Regions from separate parts of the Homo sapiens genome. Here region 2 is linked to region 1. The links are contacts of gene promoters, found by promoter capture Hi-C in blood cells and fetal thymus (Javierre and others, 2016). All regions are on one chromosome and are shown on one strand. The core of a region is centred on a gene start or on the middle of the fragment in contact, and the rest is flanking DNA. Distances in the headings are between cores, read along the strand shown.

What was found. The method cuts DNA at HindIII sites, captures the fragments that hold promoters and counts their contacts. A CHiCAGO score of 5 or more calls a contact.
Region 2: a contact is called between the fragment with the promoter of ALOXE3 here and the fragment with the promoter of LINC00324 in region 1, in 14 of 17 cell types (non-activated CD4 T cells, naive CD8 T cells, fetal thymus and 11 more). The highest score is 14.0, in non-activated CD4 T cells.

The regions. Positions count from the first base shown.
Region 1 is chr17:8,221,614-8,225,973 of GRCh38, forward strand. LINC00324 (long intergenic non-protein coding RNA 324) reads right to left here and starts at 2,430. Exons shown (of 3, transcript NR_026951.1): 1 at 2,199-2,430; 2 at 680-1,661. It overlaps CTC1 (CST telomere replication complex component 1), which reads right to left. Exons shown (of 23, transcript NM_025099.6): 23 at 3,202-4,360. TRP-CGG1-3 (tRNA-Pro (anticodon CGG) 1-3) reads right to left here and starts at 1,291; the gene lies at 1,220-1,291. TRG-TCC3-1 (tRNA-Gly (anticodon TCC) 3-1) reads left to right here; the gene lies at 1-6. It also overlaps TRD-GTC2-11. RefSeq lists enhancers at 264-403, 784-983, 1,306-2,047, 1,594-1,723, 1,974-2,213 and silencers at 664-733, 1,194-1,243. The HindIII fragment of the contact is 13,535 bases long and covers 1-4,360 here.
Region 2 is chr17:8,115,566-8,119,925 of GRCh38, forward strand. ALOXE3 (arachidonate epidermal lipoxygenase 3) reads right to left here and starts at 2,949. Exons shown (of 16, transcript NM_021628.3): 1 at 2,921-2,949; 2 at 2,279-2,738; 3 at 1,211-1,415; 4 at 42-123. The coding sequence starts at 2,425. TRK-TTT3-5 (tRNA-Lys (anticodon TTT) 3-5) reads left to right here and starts at 3,590; the gene lies at 3,590-3,662. It overlaps TRQ-CTG1-5 (tRNA-Gln (anticodon CTG) 1-5), which reads left to right and starts at 4,187; the gene lies at 4,187-4,258. RefSeq lists enhancers at 2,115-3,314, 3,036-3,115, 3,196-3,265, 3,416-3,515 and silencers at 4,036-4,085, 4,216-4,305. The HindIII fragment of the contact is 2,695 bases long and covers 1,567-4,261 here.

The DNA.
Region 1 (4,360 bases), core at 1,180-3,679:
AACGCAAGTCGTTTTGGGTGTTTTTTCCCCCCCCCGCCTTTTCCTTTTCGTGTTTTCTGGGCCCCAGCATCGTTGAGGGTTTTCGTGAGGTTTTCCTGAGGAAACTTCCGCTCCGAAAGGACCCACTTTCCGCTACACCCGCGACCACGGCTGGACCACCGCGCTCCTGACGGATGCGCCCTGCAAGCCCCTCCAGGCGAGAGCAGCGCGTCGGAATCTCGGCCCGGGGTTGCCTACTGTTCCCGGATCGCAGTGCGAATCCACAAAAAGCAGGGAGGCGAAAGGAAACAAAAGCCCGGGCTCTGCACCCTGGACGGCTGGGGGCCAAAGCTACTTGCCCAGGTTCAAGCAGAGACTGGAAATGCGCACTTCCGTCAAGGAGGGAGCAAGCTAGGCCAAGTCTGAGCGCTAATGAGCATACTGAGCAGAGCAGATAATGGCCACTTTAGGTACACGTTTGAACTCTAAGTTGCTTGAAGTAAAATGGAAACTTAGAATGCGAGCTGGAGAGGAAGGCCAAACTCTCCTCCCCTCCTCCTTTCCCTCTTTTTTATAGCTCCATCCCAGGGACCAGGACGGATTTAATGAAAGCAAAAAGATAGAAGTTTCAAAACTGCTAGTACTCTCCCCGTCGGGGAATCGAACCCCGGTCTCCCGCGTGACAGGCGGGGATACTCACCACTATACTAACGAGGAGGGACCTGTAGAGACCTTTCTCCGAATCCTTGATCTGAGACTTTACACTCTGCGTGCTGACAGCAGGGTTCCTAGGGGTTCTGTTCTTCCAACCACTGATAAACGCTGACCAGAAACCGTAGGTGTATTTCAGGCACCAATCGTCAGATGGAGTGACCGAAAGAGACAGAGTGCCTTCAGGACTGCAGAGAACCAAGTTTTGACAGTTCCTGGGCTCTCCCGAACACTGTCATCCACAACTATAGATTGACGCGTGTCAATCAAAGCGAAACCAGGCTGTGGTGGCCGAGTTGAGACACCAGGAAGGAAGTCAGGAAGCAGAAAGGGAGGGACCTGCCCAAGTCTGGGCGTGCCTCGTCTCTTCCTGACATGCCAGGCGGGTCTGGGGATTGAGATGCTTTCTGCTACCGCGGTGCCACAAAAGAGCTTACTGTACATTGATGACTTACAGTCAAGCCTCCTGCAGCGCTGGTCAGGTAACCTATTCCTTGAAGACACTCTTGTCTCAGTAAAAGGTAAAGGAGGGCTCGTCCGGGATTTGAACCCGGGACCTCTCGCACCCGAAGCGAGAATCATACCCCTAGACCAACGAGCCGACGTGCGGACGTTGCCGCGAACCGCCTTAGAGGTCGTGCCAGGCTTGCTGTAGTGCTGGGTCCACTATGCATGGCGGAACGGTCCGGGCGCACGCTCACGGACCAGCCTCCCCCAGGCCGAGTATTTTGGAGCACTGGGCTGGGAATCTCTTGGCTCCGGGCCGCGAGCTCCGGCTCCTCCCAGGAAATAGCGTCAAGGAAGTGGGAGGGAGTGGCCTCGGCCTCGCCCCCGCGCCGCCTTGCACGACTGCCTTGAACACCCGGGTTGTTGCTTCCTTTGGTTACCGACTTGGTGCCATTCCGTAACCTGGGATCTTGACACTTCCTGCCTCCGCCTGCGGTCCTTGGACCTAGCTCTTCGTTGCAGAGCTTTGAAGAGAAGCGGTGGAATTGCTTGCTTTCGGGACGGGCAGGAGAAATCACTAGGGGAACACCAGTGCCCCGTGTCTGTCTATCCTCCTGGGCTAACGGGCAGGGCAAACCCTGGGCCAGACCCATCGATAGTCCACGGGTTCCCCAGACCGCATGGCAGTACCCAAGCGAGGGAAAGAGGGAACGATTTCTGGGGCCCAGAAGACCCACGGAAGAGGGCGTTATTGAGCTGGGTGACTGGAGGGGGACAGGCTTTCCACCCTGCAGTGGGGCGGGGCGCAAGGCCAGGCGACTAGTCTCATGGCTTCCGGACTGTAAGATCAGGTTACCCCTACCCTACAGTCTAACCTCTGCTCCCCAGTCCCCTCCTAGAATGGCCTAGAAGGGAGACCCTCCTGCCTGCCTCCTAAGACCCCCCGAAGGCTCTGAGGCACGTGGCCGCATGAATGTGGTCGAAGGCCTGTAGACCCGGTTTGGGGACTTAGCAGTGTCCCCGGGACTGCCCAGTGAGCCTCTGCGCTCTTAAACACTCACCATGCTGCTCTTACTCCGGAGCTGCCCAGAGTCCCAGCAAGATCTGGTGGGGTCGGTAGCAGACCACGTGTCCTGCCTTTCCTCAGCTCAGTGCCTGTTCTGGGGAGTCCTCCCAGCGGGGTTCTGGCCTGCATCGGCCCTGGACCAGCCTGGTGTCATCTGTGGAACCATTTTGTTCTACACCCCAGTTGTGTGATTTGTGGGGCCAGGCCGTTCCTAATGCCCAACCCATAGATACGATGACGGGGCTTTCAGTGAAGGATTCAGCTCCTATTTGTCTTTCCCAGGTTCCCCTGGACAGACAGTGGGGAAGGGCAGCAGAAGTTAGCCCAGCCTTTCCCATTAGTGTCCCAAGTCTTTGAGATGGGTAAAGAGGTTCTCAGGGCTGATCTGGCATCTCCTCCCCCATTCCTACCCTTTTCCAATTCCTGTCTCCCTCCCCTTGGGCCCCAGCTTTCTCTGCAAAATAATCCAGTCACCTCTTCCCTGGCCTCAGGCACTTAAACGCTGCAGAAGGGGAGGCCTAAATCCTTTATGACCCTTATGAAAGCTATGTCCCTCTTCACCGGGCACAGTGGCTCACACCTGTAATCCCAGCACTTTGGGAGGCTGAGGTGGGTGGATCACAAGGTCAGGAGTTCAAGACCAGCCTGACCAAAATGGTGAAACCCCGTCTCTACTAAATATACAAAAATTAGCCAGGCGTGGTGGCGGGCGCCTGTAATCCCAGCTACTCGGGAGACTGAGGCAGGAGAATTGCTTGAACCCGGGAAGCGGAGGTTGCAGTGAGTCAATATTGTGCCATTGCACTCCAGCCTGGGTGACAGAATGAGACTCCCTCCGTCTCAAAAAAAAAAAAAAAAAAAAAAAGCTATGGCCCTCTTCCTAAACATGTATACAATCCAGGGAGTTCACACATAATCCCATCCACATACCCCACACTTTATTTTTTCCTCAGAAAAGTGCGTACATAGACCCCACTTTTAATAACCAAGAACTAACAAACAGCTGATCATTCGTTTATTTTATTTCATTTTTTTGAGACGGAGTTTCACTCTTGTTGCCCAGGCTGGGATGCAGTGGCGCGATCTCGGCTGACAACACCTCCTCCCCCCTCCAAGGTTGAAGCGATTCTCTTGCCTCAGCCTCCCAAGTAGCTAGGACTGCAGGCGCCTGCCACCACGCCTGGCTAATTTTTTGCATTTTTAGTAGAGACGAGGTTTCACTATGTTACCAGGTTTCACTATGTTGGCCAGGCTGCTGGTCTGGAACTCCTGACCTCGTGATCCGCCCACCTTGGCCTCCCAAAGCGCTGGGATTACAGGCGTGAGCCACCGCGCCCGGCCATACATGGCAAGTTTCTACATGGTGTTTCAGACTTAGCTGATCACCCTCTACCCTCAGGCCAGATTAGATTCCACTTCTCCCTGTTCTTACAGTGCCGTTAGTGCTGAAAGGGGAACGTGCCTTGTTCATTTGGTTCTGCACAGGGTCCAGCCCAGTGCTTGGCACAAACGTGGTCTCGGCAGTGCTGCATCCCTGGCTTGACCTGGAGGTAGCAATTCCTTCAAGCCATTTGCTCATCTTACATTGGTTCGTGGGCCATGGAATGGTGTCGAGAGCTTTCTGCCTATCTTCCAAGGAGGTTTAGGTCCTGCCAAGAGCTCACAGATCCTATTTCTTGCCTTATCTCTGGCATTTATTTCTTCCTTAACCAGCCTAGCTTCAGTGCTCCAGAAAAGTGCCCTGCCCTTCCACACCAGGATCCCTAGCGACTCCCGAATGATGCTTTCTTGGACTCTGTTCACATGGCCTCAGCCCTTCTGCACCCTGCTGCACGAAACCTGGTGCCAGGCCAGGCCAGGCCAGCCGGATCCCTGCTTACTCCTTACCCTGACATCCCGCTGGTGGAGAGGGATGGAGGTAACTGCAAGTGAAAGACCAGTTAGAGGACCGCATCTGGAAGCTGTGCCAAATTTTAAATACTGTATATTTAAATATATATTTTTATATTATATACTATATATATAACATTATGAGCCACCAAACCCAAAGAACTATAATGAAGAGCCAAACAAAACAAAGTGGCTCAGGTTCTAGGGGACGTCCTAGGGTGGAGAAAGAGGCCTGGAAGGTGGGCAGCCCCTTCCATCGAGGGTGGG
Region 2 (4,360 bases), core at 1,699-4,198, 110 kb before region 1:
GGATAAAGATGGGGAAAGAAGTCAAATTAGGCCACCCTCACCGGTAGCATTCTTGTCGGGCCCGGAGCTCCCGTGTCCTGTGATCCAGGAGGAGGGGAAGAGAGTCCTGACAAATAGTTCTTGCTGTGGGGAATGAAAATTACTCTTGGTATAAGTCTCTTTTCCAACAACATCTTCTGCAAACCTTGCCTGAACCCCCTGACCCTTGAACCCAATCCGACAGCCACATCCCTGTGAAACACGTGGCGGTGCCCCCACGTTCTTTGTGTATTCATCAGTAGAAGGGATTCAAGACAGCTTCACCCCCAAATTATAGCAATCTTCCCAATTGTTGGCATGTTTATCTCCCCTCCAGACTATAAACTCCCTGAGGGCAGAAGTCGTCTTGTATTCCTTTTTCTTCTTTTTCTTCTTCTGTATTCCCGGCTTCTAGCATGGTGCCTGGCACCATGTGTATAAGATGCACTTTAAATGACTGATGAACAAATATATTTTGTGAAGCTATGGATGGATGTGCTGTGGAGATGGATGAGAGTTTATAGTGAGGTCTATGGAAAACTTATTACGGACCATGGGGTAATATTCATTTGCCTCACTTTGACCTAGAATATCCCTCCTTCATCCTGAGCCTCCTCCCAACACCCAGAGCAGCCCTACTGTTGCCTCTCCAGATCAGATAGCTCTGGAAACTGAAGATGCTCAAGCCCAGCATCTGCAGAAGGCCCCAGAAATTCAACAAGGAATCCTAGCAGCACCTCTCAGGGACCTCATCCACACTAGAAAAGCTAGTAGTAGGGGAGGGAATGGGGCCTCTCCAGCTAAAATCTCTGAGCAGCCAGGGCTTCTCTACCTGTTAAAATCTAATGACTCAGGGTGCAGGTTAGTTCCTCTCTGGGGTCTGGAGGAACTCACTCTGGAGAAGTGCAGAGGGAGGCTGTGGAAAGCAAAGTGCTTCCTATGTGTATGAGAGAAGGGTGCCTGCCTATATGAGTGTATGTGTCTATGTGAGTCTCCAGAAGAGTCAATACCGTCTGCAAAACCCTCGCATTTCAGGGCTTGAGAGGCTCCCTTTTTTCAGAAAACATCTACTTGGGAGCCCAGAGTTTCTGACCTCAATCTTATTCCCTATACTCTGGGGCTCTGTGAGACCCCACTCCTAATCCCAAAGGACACCTTCTGCAGTACAGTGTAGTCCTCGTCTCTGGCCCACCTGTTCCTGGCCTCAGCTCCACGGTGCAGTAGCCTTCAATCCACTGATAGCAGGGGAAGTGGGATACACTACCATCCGGTTCGGTGACACAGATGCGGCTACAGTACCAAGAGTCCTTGCGGAAGAAAGCGTAGCGCTCCTTGTGTACACGCAGCAGCAAGAGCTCACCCAGCTCCGCTGTGCAACGCACCTTGTACTTCTGTACCTGAGGGGACCAAGACAGCAAGCAGGTGAGAGGCGGGGAACTGCCAAGGCGGTCCTTGCGCCTTGCAAGATGCATCTACACCTAAGCCTATTCGGGCATACAAACCTGAGCTGCTCCCAGCCCATACCGGGCTTTTGTATGAATTAGAAAAAGCTTCCCCGGGCCGGGAGAGGTGGCTCACGCCTGTAATCCTAACACTTTGGGAGGCCGAGGCGGGTGGATCACCTGAGGTCAGGAGTTTGAGACCAGCCTGCCCGATGAAACCGCTTCTCTACTAAAAATACAAAAAATTAGTCGGGCGTCGTGGCAGGCGCCTGTAATCCCAGCTACTTGGGAGGCTGAGGCAGGAGAATCGCTTAAACCCGGGAGGTGGAGGTTGCAGTGACCTGAGATCACACCACTGCCCTCCAGCCTGGGCAACAAGAGCAAAACTCCATCTCAAAAAGAAAAGAAAAAGGTGCCCGAGCACAGTGGGCACTGCATTTCACTAGCTTCCTAGGCCGGCTGGGAACTCTTGTGGAGGCCACCTGGGGCTGGCAGAGGCAGGCAGATCCCCTCGATAAGAGGAAACCCAGGCTCAGAGAGGGGAAGCGACTTGCCCAAAGCCCACGGTCAATTATGGGAGGAGTTTAGGAGCCAGGGGAAGTCCCTCTACTCCCTGTCCAACGCTCCTTCCTCTCCACAGTCCTGCCTGGATGGAGTTCATCATCTCCAGGAAAGACAGGGACCTCAATAGGGAAGGTGAGGAGGTCAGGGCCGGTATCCTGAGTTCAGCAGGATCTCAAGAGTCCAGGAGGAATACTCCTCCCGCCTGCGGCCCCTGCCCCTCTGAGGTCGCGCTTCCCTGTCTCCTTTGTACTCACCGATCCAGGGGCGAAGTCCCTGCCCATTCGATCTAGCCGCTGCTTGGGGCTTTCACCACACGTGCCCACCAGTGTGACAGAGATGTTGTCCAGTGTGCCGGCCCTCAGGTAGGGACCAGTGGTCACACACAGGCGGTACACTGCCATGATGGGAAGGAGGAAGGGATGCCCCGGCAACGCTGGCCGCAGCAGCAGCCGGCCTGGAGGAGAAGAGCGGCACGCCGGACAGGGCTGGGTTTCTGGGCGGAGGGCTAGGGGCTGCGGGGCTGGGTAGGGCTGAGGATGGGCCCAGCTCTCTCTGGGATGTTCCTGGGCTTTCTCTCTCCGAAGCTCCCTGCTGGCGGCTCGGGCTTCCTCTCTCCGCCCACAGTCTTGCACTCTAATACTTGTTTGCTTGCCTCTGACACAGCCGGTCCCTCTGGCTGGCTCACCCAGATGGATATCAGGAGCCTGGGTTCCACTGCGGAGGGAGGGATCAGATGCTGAGATGGAGAAAAGGAGGTAACGCCTGTATAATTGGGACACTGCCCTCCGCCTGGTCAGCGGCCCGGACTGATGCCCTGGAGTGCTTGTCCGCCCACTCCCCAATGTCCCCCAAGATCTGTTCCTCCCCATTCCCAGGCAGAGATGAGCACAGGGCACCTGCATTCCTACGTGTGAATCATCCGTGTGAATCACTAAACAGTGGAGAGTTGCACTTGGTCATAAATCACACGTGACTGCAGCCACACGCAGGTGAGTCGCACACGCATTCCAGCACATGTCAAATGGTCAGGAACAGCTCCCTGTCACCCCATACACCGATCCCCCCACGCATGGCCCTCTTTGTCCCCAGCCTTTGGCACGCCCGACCTCATTCTCTGCTCTGGAGTAGGGCAGGTCAGGAAAGCGAAATACAGCGCCGGCAAACAGGGTCTGAATGCCCCGCGTGGCATTCTTTCCGCTCCAGGACCGCCCTGGGCCTGCAGGATCCTGGGCGGGAGCCCAGGTGTCCGGGATCTGGGCCACTAGGGACTGGGGAGGAACCTCTCAGAGAAGCCCATAGCCCGCAGCGGCCCCGCGCGGCCGGTTCCGGCGCCGCACTGTTCCAGCCTCTACTATGGTACAGTCCCTGCGTCGCAGCCTCGGCGGGGGCTCTAAGAACGGGAGGCAGAAAAAGCTCAATCAGCAGCAGGCGAGCTTCACCCGCTGCTTCCAAATCTGTGCCAAAATATTCTATGCTGCACAGATAAAATCCTCTGTCGGTTCTACAAGCCTGGCTTTTCCTATAGAGAACCCTCTTATAAGCAAAAAGTAAAGCTCTCGTGAAGAGCCCGGATAGCTCAGTCGGTAGAGCATCAGACTTTTAATCTGAGGGTCCAGGGTTCAAGTCCCTGTTCGGGCGGCATGTCTTTGCTTTTGGGTACCGCACTTCGCATAAAATGGTAACAAAAATAGTTACTAGTTTTTAAAGCTAGGTGATACAGAAACTTGATTTCCACAAAATACAGCAAACGACGGTGGAGGGTAATAAACATACTTTAAAACAGTACAAACGCGAGCCGTATTATCGAATTTACATTTTCTGGTAGCCACATTACAAAGAATAAAAAGCAAGCGAAATTAATTTCACGGATCTATTTTACTTACCCTAATATACCAAAATCTTATTTTAACATATAATCAACATTCTAAAAATATTAATGAAATTTTAAGTCTTTTTGTTTGTACAAAGCCTTCCTTCAAAAGAAGATGTGTATTTAGAAGCTGGCAATACATCTGAATTCATATATTTCAAGTGCTCGATAACGGTGTCTACCATATCCAACAGCAGACTTTGTTTTGTTTTCGTTTTAAGTGACGGGTGTGGAAGACACGCAAAATAGAATGTCCAGTAATGTACACAATCTTGAAAGACACCACGAGGGAGGTTCCATGGTGTAATGGTTAGCACTCTGGACTCTGAATCCAGCGATCCGAGTTCAAATCTCGGTGGAACCTTGAAGCTTTTCTTTTAATATCAGCATGTTGAATATTGTTAATTGATTTTCACAGAGGGGATACTCCTATGACCCAAGATAATACGACAAAAAAAAAAAGTAA